3 separate regions of the Homo sapiens genome follow, and all the other regions are linked to region 3. Evidence: promoter capture Hi-C in human tissues and cell types (Jung and others, 2019). All regions are on one chromosome and are shown on one strand. Each heading gives the region's core, a stretch centred on a gene start or on the middle of the fragment in contact. The rest is flanking DNA. Distances are from core to core; before and after follow the strand shown.

The links. Contacts are between HindIII fragments. The study calls those that stand out against the background at their distance.
Region 1: a contact is called between a fragment that was not itself captured here and the fragment with the promoter of GJB5 in region 3, in 2 of the 25 tissues and cell types used here (IMR-90 fibroblasts and lymphoblastoid cells).
Region 2: a contact is called between a fragment that was not itself captured here and the fragment with the promoter of GJB5 in region 3, in 2 of the 25 tissues and cell types used here (mesendoderm cells and thymus).

What each region holds. Positions count from the first base shown.
Region 1 is chr1:34,443,089-34,445,788 of GRCh38, forward strand. No RefSeq gene overlaps it. Among named protein-coding and RNA genes, the nearest start is that of MIR552, 230 kb to the right of the region's middle. The HindIII fragment of the contact is 4,526 bases long and covers 1-2,700 here.
Region 2 is chr1:34,467,734-34,470,433 of GRCh38, forward strand. LOC105378641 (a long non-coding RNA gene) reads right to left here. Exons shown (of 9, transcript XR_001737964.2): 6 at 2,048-2,253. Among named protein-coding and RNA genes, the nearest start is that of MIR552, 200 kb to the right of the region's middle. The HindIII fragment of the contact is 3,632 bases long and covers 1-2,700 here.
Region 3 is chr1:34,753,786-34,756,485 of GRCh38, forward strand. GJB5 (gap junction protein beta 5) reads left to right here and starts at 1,262. Exons shown (of 2, transcript NM_005268.4): 1 at 1,262-1,410. The HindIII fragment of the contact is 2,696 bases long and covers 131-2,700 here.

The DNA of each region.
Region 1 (2,700 bases), core at 17-2,516, 310 kb before region 3:
CCTCAGGCAGCACCTGGGCAATACCCTCTCTGGATGGGAAGCACTGTGCCCATCTGACTTGAGGGGCTGCAGTCACACACAACCCCCAGCCCCTCCTAGCATGGGTTCTCTGGGAAATAACACCTTTAACACTGGCTCAGTCATACAGAGGTGCCCACAGAGATTCTGATGTTCACCACCAATTTCTGGATCGGCACCTCCACCCTTGTTCTCATCCTTCTTGGTACCTCAATTACTTCTATTTCCCCATGGTTGAGCTCCCACCATGTCTATCCCAGAACCTAACTTCCATGCACTTCCCCTCCCTGCAACATCTTGATTGTGACACCTGTAGCTGTGTCTCCTCCTTCTCTTCAGGGGGCTTTTCTCATGACAGTGTCTGTACCCAAGGACACTCCATGAAGTAGTCTCAATTTTGACTCCATGATTTCTTAGCCCAATCTTGCAGAGGCTGCCCAATTTCTTTGCCATCTTCATCATGGCCAATACTGAGTTGTGGTTGCAAGGCGTATAGCCTTATGGTGAAGGACATGAGATCCAGAGACAGACAGACCCGAGTTTGATTTTCTGCTCTTCCACTAGCTAGCACTGTTGACCTGAAGCAGCCACTTGGCCCCTCTGAACCACAGTTTCTTCATGTGTACATGGAAATCATAATAGTGCCTAATTCACAGGATGGATGAGGAGTCAATGAGCCAAGGTATGTATGTGTTTGGTTTCCTATTGCTGCTGTTGCTAATTGCCCCAAACTTAGTAGCTTAAAGCAACAGAAATTTATTCCCTTGCAGTCTTGGAGGCCAGAAGTCTGAAATGAGTCTTGCAGGGCTAAGATCAAGGTGTCAGCAGGCTGGTTCCTTCTGGAAGCTTCAGGGAAGAATCCACTCCTTTCCTCTTCCAGTTACTGGTGGCTGTGGCATTCCTTGGCAGTTAGCTACATCCCTCCACTCTCTGCTTCCATTGTCATATTTCCTTTTCCCCTCTATGCTAAATCTCCCTCTGCCTTCCTCTAATATGGACACTTGTGATTTCTTTTAGGGCCCACCCAGATAATCTAGGATAATCTCCTCATTTCAAAATCCTTAACCTAATTGCATCTGCAAAGTCCCTTTTGCCACATAGGGTAACATTCACAGGTTCATATTTTAGGGGGAGTATTATTCAGCCCACTGCAGGTGCTAAGCAGAGTGCCTACCATATAGAAGCTCCATAAATTACTGCTACTATTCTTATTACAGTTATTATGATTACAATGGTTAGCCCCTAATTCTGCACTAACATTATTCCTTTGATTGCCACACAGTCAACAAAGGGTTGGGTTTCTATAGGTCCAAAGAGCACAATTACGTGAGGCTCGAATAACTAACACTCAGACATTTAGCCATTTATACCATCTATAAAATTCTTCCTTCCCAATATGCACTCCTAGCAGGAGGTAGGAATTCTCAGTGGGGTGCAATAAAAGCCCCTCCAGGTGAACTTTTAACTAACAGCTTATCAGAGCAAGATGATGCTCTAATGAGTCCTCTGAACTCTCCAGATGCGTCCCTGCACACGGCTTCCTCTGGCCATTACATCTGCTATTCCTTTCAAGGATGTGGCTGGGCTCTGCTCTCTTCCCAGCTGGCAAGAGCTGAGCAAAGCCCCTGAGGCTCTTACTCCAGGGGACAGATATGCATCAACAGTCACTACCCTCACATCTGTCCACAGCTGTCCAGAGAGAAATTCCACAGGATTATTGGATGGAACTTTGCCCCAGCCCCTCTTAGAGCTCCCACAGCTGGTTGTCTCCTCTGAGCACTGAACACTGATGGGAGGAAGTTCCAGTGGCAATGACTGTGCTAAGTCGCAGCATAGGTGGGTCAGGCACTGGCCCAGAAGTGGCCAATTCTGAACCAGGTTGAGTTTATGATTCCAGAAAGTCATGGAGCTACCAAGGCCAAGGAGATGAGCCACCAGAGATAGAGACCAAAGGGTGCACCAGTCAAGTCCAAGAGCCAGGAATCTGCCCCTGAAGAAAGAGCCAAGACAGAAAGAGACTGGGGTGAGACCTGGGCGAGGGAGTCTGTGAACATCTGACTAATTCTGAATCTTTCTTACTGCACCCTCTTCTGAAGAGTCAGCTCCTACCCAGAAGAGTTTAAAGACCATGAATACTTTAGACTCGGCTTGCACAAGCATGCGGAGTCTCTAAATGCCCAGGACTCTTCTCATTAGGAAGCCTATGTCCGGGTGGCTCCCTGAGGCTGGAGGAGACCAGTGGTTAAATGTGCCAAGGCAAATACCCTCTCTCTGCCACCACCCATGTTGCCCTCAGGGACACATTCTTGGCGGTCTCTCTCCTGAGTTAATACCCTCTTAAACCTCACAGGGTCTCTTCTCTGTGCAAAGCCCCTTTTGTCCATCGGATGCTCTCAAAGCTAACATGGGGTCCCCATGACACCAATCAGCTCCTAGAGTCTGAGATCTAGGACTGCCTGGGCTGCATTCCCAATCACCTAGCTCAGGCCCAGGGGCATCAACTCTGCTGAGCTCTCTGCTGAGGACTTTGAAGGAAACTTCAAGCTGAAACAATCATGGCAGCTTCAACTGGGTCTGCCTCACAGTCCACCTTTTGTTTTGTCCCTTGCCCCTGCTCACACTGCGTAGGGAGGGTTCTCCCTATCCCCTCTACTCTCCGGAAGTCTGCTACCTCCATTTCCC
Region 2 (2,700 bases), core at 160-2,659, 290 kb before region 3:
TCCAGCTAAAAGGGACAGCAGATCACCAACTGCAGCTGATGCTGCCATATAGAAATATGAACCCAGCGTTTCCTGCTCCTCTGATTTTTTTAAAGAAGCTGGAAATTCAGATATTAATATGAAACCTTCTAAATTTTTAGGGTTGGCAGCTAATTAAAAAGTTTTGAGAGCAACATGAAGGCAAAGAAAAAGTGTCCACGGGCCTGATAGAACAACTCTGTATTTTGAAAATTTGATCTCGGAAATTCCCAACCTCTCTTTACTTCCTCAACGTCCAGTCAGTCTTGTCAAATTCTGCATTGTTCATTCAGAGGCATTGACAAAGTACCTACCATGAATCAGAAACAAAAATCAGGCACTAACTAGCTCTCTGCTTCTGGTGCACAGAGTAGCAGGCAGACAAGTAAAGAAACAGTTACAAAACAGTGTGATGAAAGCGACACTATAAAAAACACAGGTGCTGTTGGAGCCCAAAGGAGAGGAACCCACGCCAGCCTAGGAAATCAGGGAAGGCTTCCTGGTGTAGATGACAAGACACGAGATGTAACAGATGAATAGAATGTGACTTAGGCAGGTGCAGCAGATGGAGAGGAGTTGTTCCTAATTGGCTTCTTCTTCCTTCCCACTTTCTCAACCTTAATTCAGACCCTCATCACATGGCACCAGTTATCAAAACACCCTTTTCATTGGTTTCCTTGATTCCAATCATTCTCCACACTGTTGCAAAACTCACCTCTCTAAGACAAAAGTATGTCCTCTCACTCCCATATGTTAATTTCCTTTAGGGTGACCCCATTGAGGACAGGAGAAGTTTCCCAGTTTCATGATCAACATCTCATCCATCAAAACTTTTTGATAATGCAACTTCAACATAAACATGTCTGCTTATTTGTTTATTTATAAATTAGATATCTGTAATGTGCTAAGTGTCATGGAAATTTTGCACAAAAAATAGAAAATTTTAAGGTTGAAGATACATACGGTTGAAAATTATAAAACATTTATATTTATATATATATATATAATTTTCAACCATTAAATAAAATAATGAGAGCTATGTACTTGCTCATCATAAATGCTTTGATACTTTTAAAAATCTTAGCTTAACACTTTTTGATATAATCATTTGAAGGTCAAGTTGAAAGTATGTTTATTTAGTACATGGTTTTCATGACTTAGGCTGAAAGGCATGCAAAAGACATGGAGATCACAGTGGGAGACATACTTACTGGCTGCACTTTGTACATGTTAGACCCATTTTCAATCCCACCTACCAATTATACAGACAATGTGAACATTTGCTTACTAGATCTCTGTATTCCACGTATCAATTGTTCATTTCTGCAAATGAATTGGAAGATGCAGCATTTCTACATTTTGAACAAATGTGTACAAAGTCCTCCAGGTTTTTTTATGTAGGAGATTTTTTAACACTTTAGGAAATTTTGTTTCCAAGTTTTTATAGAACACAGATATAACAATTTTTATAAGTGACACCCTGACAAAATTTTAGGCAATAGGATCATGTAATGGTGGAAACACTTCAAACATCCATTTTAAAATGTTCTTCCTTTTGTGCACACAAACCTGTTTCAAAAAACAGTTCCTTTCTCACTCATTGTTAAAAAAATATCGCCTTTACCTTGAAAGGGCAGATTACAGATGTTTACTTTTTCAAAAATATCTAATAGCAACAGCTACCTGTCATCATTGGAAAGGTCAGCAAATTTGGAAAACTTGTCTTTTTGTAAAAGAAAATTATATCTCTCATCTTTAAGTTCAATGAATTAGCCAGAAGCCCTCTGGATAGCACAAGATCAAGCACATAAGCTTGGTGATCAAGATCTTTCTTGCCTTCCAAATCATCTTTTGCTGAATGTATCCAGAACCCATTTTTATTTGCTTAAATGAATGAAGCAAACTTCACCAATCCACTGAGCTCCTGGAGCATTTCTTCCCACACCTCTATCAGAGTATTTGTCAGCTTGCACTGTGATCTTTTGTTTGTTTGCAGGTACGAGTCCCCTAGGCAGGTGTGGGTGCATACCTTGAATGTCCAGCCTTCTTCCACATCTCTCAGCTTCCAGTGCCCAGCACTGTGACCCAGAGCAGGTGCCAGGAAACACTTGCTGAGTACATATACAGATGAATGAGTTTCCCCAGGATGAGACAGACACATTCGGGTGCCTTCTTTGGTAGTGATCCATTCTCTATATGCTGATGTTCATAGCCAGAGCCATGAAAGTAGTATTTCTGAAAAGAAAATCCAGGTTGGGATTCTTAAAATCATTTCTAAAAAGACCTTTACTTGGTGAAAGCATAATCCATTAATAATGTGTTTTACACTAAAGAGATAATGGGAACCTCCCACAGGGGGATTAAAGCATGACTAGAATTTAGGGTCAATACTCCTCCAAAATTGCTTCATCCCTCTGAGATGCAAACAGCAGGAAACACACCAGCCCTCCCCGGGCTGTCAGGAGGAGCACCAGACAGAGGGGAGGACTTAAGCCAGAGAAGAGGTAACATCCAGGAAAGTCCACTAACCATCTTCTTTATGATGGCCCCGCAGGACACTCCAGCTGGTCTCCCTTTGCTCTGACCAGCAACCAGGAATTTTCCAGTCTCTGGCCATGGACAGTGATACCTTTATTGGTAAAAGCAGGGGTTGTGGGGGTGGGGGTGGGGAAGGAGCTGGCT
Region 3 (2,700 bases), core at 12-2,511:
TTTTCACAAAGGTCCTCTGCACGCTATGTGCCCACTGCCTCAAAGGCCCCTCCTCAGCATCTCTTCTTGGTAAACTCCTATACATCCTTCAAGACCCAGCTTAAATGTTACCTTCTCCGGCTCTCCCTCTGGCAGAACTTAAAACTCCCTTCTCTCTCTGTGTCTTTTCTAGGACTTCTCACAATGTTGTAACTGATCTCTTTATATGCCTCCTCTCTCCTGTACTTGGCAACAGCTTTTTGGAAAGAGCATGGAGTATAGAAATGTGTGACTCTCTGCAGGGTGTGTGCATTTCACACATCATTCATTCAATAAATATAAATTGAAGCCTAACTGGACAAGACACCAGGCACCATACTAGGCACAAGGGATAGAGCAGTGAATAAAATAAAGCCACTGCTGCATGTGTGTGCAACACTGTGCCCATAATTGTGGCCTGTGTGTAAGAGTATGCTCATGTGAAGCTACATTGTGTTTGCTTGTGGACATGAGGTGTTTGTGGCTCCTGGATGCTTTGTCTGTTGAATCCTGACCCCAAGTGACCTGCTGATACAGGGCACCTTGGAAGTCAATTAGGCCAAAAGACCGTGTCTGTGCACTAATGAGAAGCTTTCCCCAGGTGCCCCTGCCCACCTTCTCCACCTCTCCTGTGGTTCCTGCCTGGCTTGGGTTTGGCCTTTTTAACCCAAAGACAACATGCATCCAAATGAGATTTTCTCTAGTGCATACGTCTCTCTCTCCCTCCCTTCTCCTCTGCCTTCCCTGTATCTCAGAAAGAAAAGGCCTAGGAATAAGGAAAAGGAGGAGGAAGAAACATTTTTTTGAGGACATACCATGCGGCAGGCCTGTGCTGGGCAGTATACACGCATTATAGGCAATTGTAGACAGGGCTTCCCTTGTGTCAGGCACTGTTCTAAGCACTTCACCCCTAAGGCTGGGTTAATCCACGTATCCACCCTATGAGGTAGGTGTTGTTCTTTTCCCACTTTCACAGAGAAGGCAAGAAATCACACAGTGAGAAAGTGGCAGAGCTGGGATTCAGGCCTCAGCTTCTCCCACACAAGCCCACAGATGGGAGGATGAACAAGGAGTCAGAGTGGACCTGTGGCTCTCCCCTGAGAGGATACCAGGATTCGAGGCTCAGCGCCCTGGGAGGAGTGAACCCCTCAGTTTCCTGAGCCTCATCAGAAGCAGTCTGGGGAGGCTGGGGCCCAGCCAATGGCAGTGCAGGTCCCAGCTCCTCCTCCTCCCAGGCTGGGCCAGCACACCCGGCAGGCTCTGTCCTGGAAACAGGCTTCAACGGGCTTCCCCGAAAACCTTCCCCGCTTCTGGATATGAAATTCAAGCTGCTTGCTGAGTCCTATTGCCGGCTGCTGGGAGCCAGGAGAGCCCTGAGGAGTAGTCACTCAGGTAAGGGCATCTGTGTCCGCATGTGCCCTGCCCCTTGGCATACGTGGCAGGAGGACACTTCTCTGCTGGGGAGTGGTGGGATGTGGCCTGGACACATCTGCCACCCTGGGTCCTGATGGTGGAGGAATAAGGGGCTCTGGGTTCTTTCAGGTCTCCCCAGCCGGGCAAAGGTAGGAGCAGGGGCCAGGCCGGAAGCTCAGCAGGCAGGGTAGCTCTGCCTGGGCCTGCAAAGCCCTGCCCCACTCCTCCCCAAGTAGGGATGGGCTGGGTGAGAGCCCCTGGGGCTAAGGGCGGGGCCTTCCTGGGTGTTCCCTGAGAAGCTGCAGGAGTCCTACCTTAGACAGGACTGAGCATGCAAGATGGTGATTCAAAACAGAGCTCCCCCCAACCCCGGCCCCCACCTCCACCCATCCCCCGTCCAAGTGGCGCAGGTGGTGTGGAGACAGGGTGGTGGGCAAAGGTTCCCCCAGCCACCCTCATCCAGGATCCACACACAAGGGGAAGGACAGAATCCGTCTGCACACAAACAGGCAGGCAGCTCATTGAAACTTGAGGAAAGGGTCTGAGGCCTAAGGCTGGGCAGTTCCCGGAGGGTGGGCTCTAGAGCCAGCCTGCCTGGGTTCAAATCCTAGCTCTGCCACTTATTAGCTGTGTGACGTTGAGCAAGTTAATTAATCCCTCTGTGTTCCTCTTTCCTCATCTGTAAATTGGGAATAAAAAATATGCCCTTTCCTAAGGTTGCTGTGAAGGAATAATGTACTGATTCATACAAAGAACTTAGAGCGGTGCCTGGCACGGCATGAATGCTTCATGGATATTGGCTGTTATCACTACTCTGCTTTGCAGTTGATCATGCAGAGGCTCCAGAGAGCCTGGTGAGCTTCAGCCTGGACCAGCATGGGAAGGCCATCATGAGCCCTTTAGTGGCTAGGCAGACAGGTTCCTTGGGGTCCCAGGGTGCACAGTTGGTTGAAACCACAGTGCATGGGTCTTAATGGACACACCCCCATCTCCAGGAATCAGGCAGAGGACTCGCGGGTGAGGAAGTGGGGACCCCTTACTCTGCCTAGCAGTCACAGTCCTTACGCGGAGGTGAATCTGATTCTGTGAGTTCATCAGGCCAAATTCACCAGCAGAACTGACAGGAGCAGCATTTCCCACTTGATGTCTTGACAAGGCTGTTCCACAAGATGATAAATGTTATGTCAGGAGGAAAAGGGCTTCTGTGGGCAAATGAGTTTGGGCAATGCCACATATTTCATACCTCTTTTGGTGAATTTATTAGTGAGT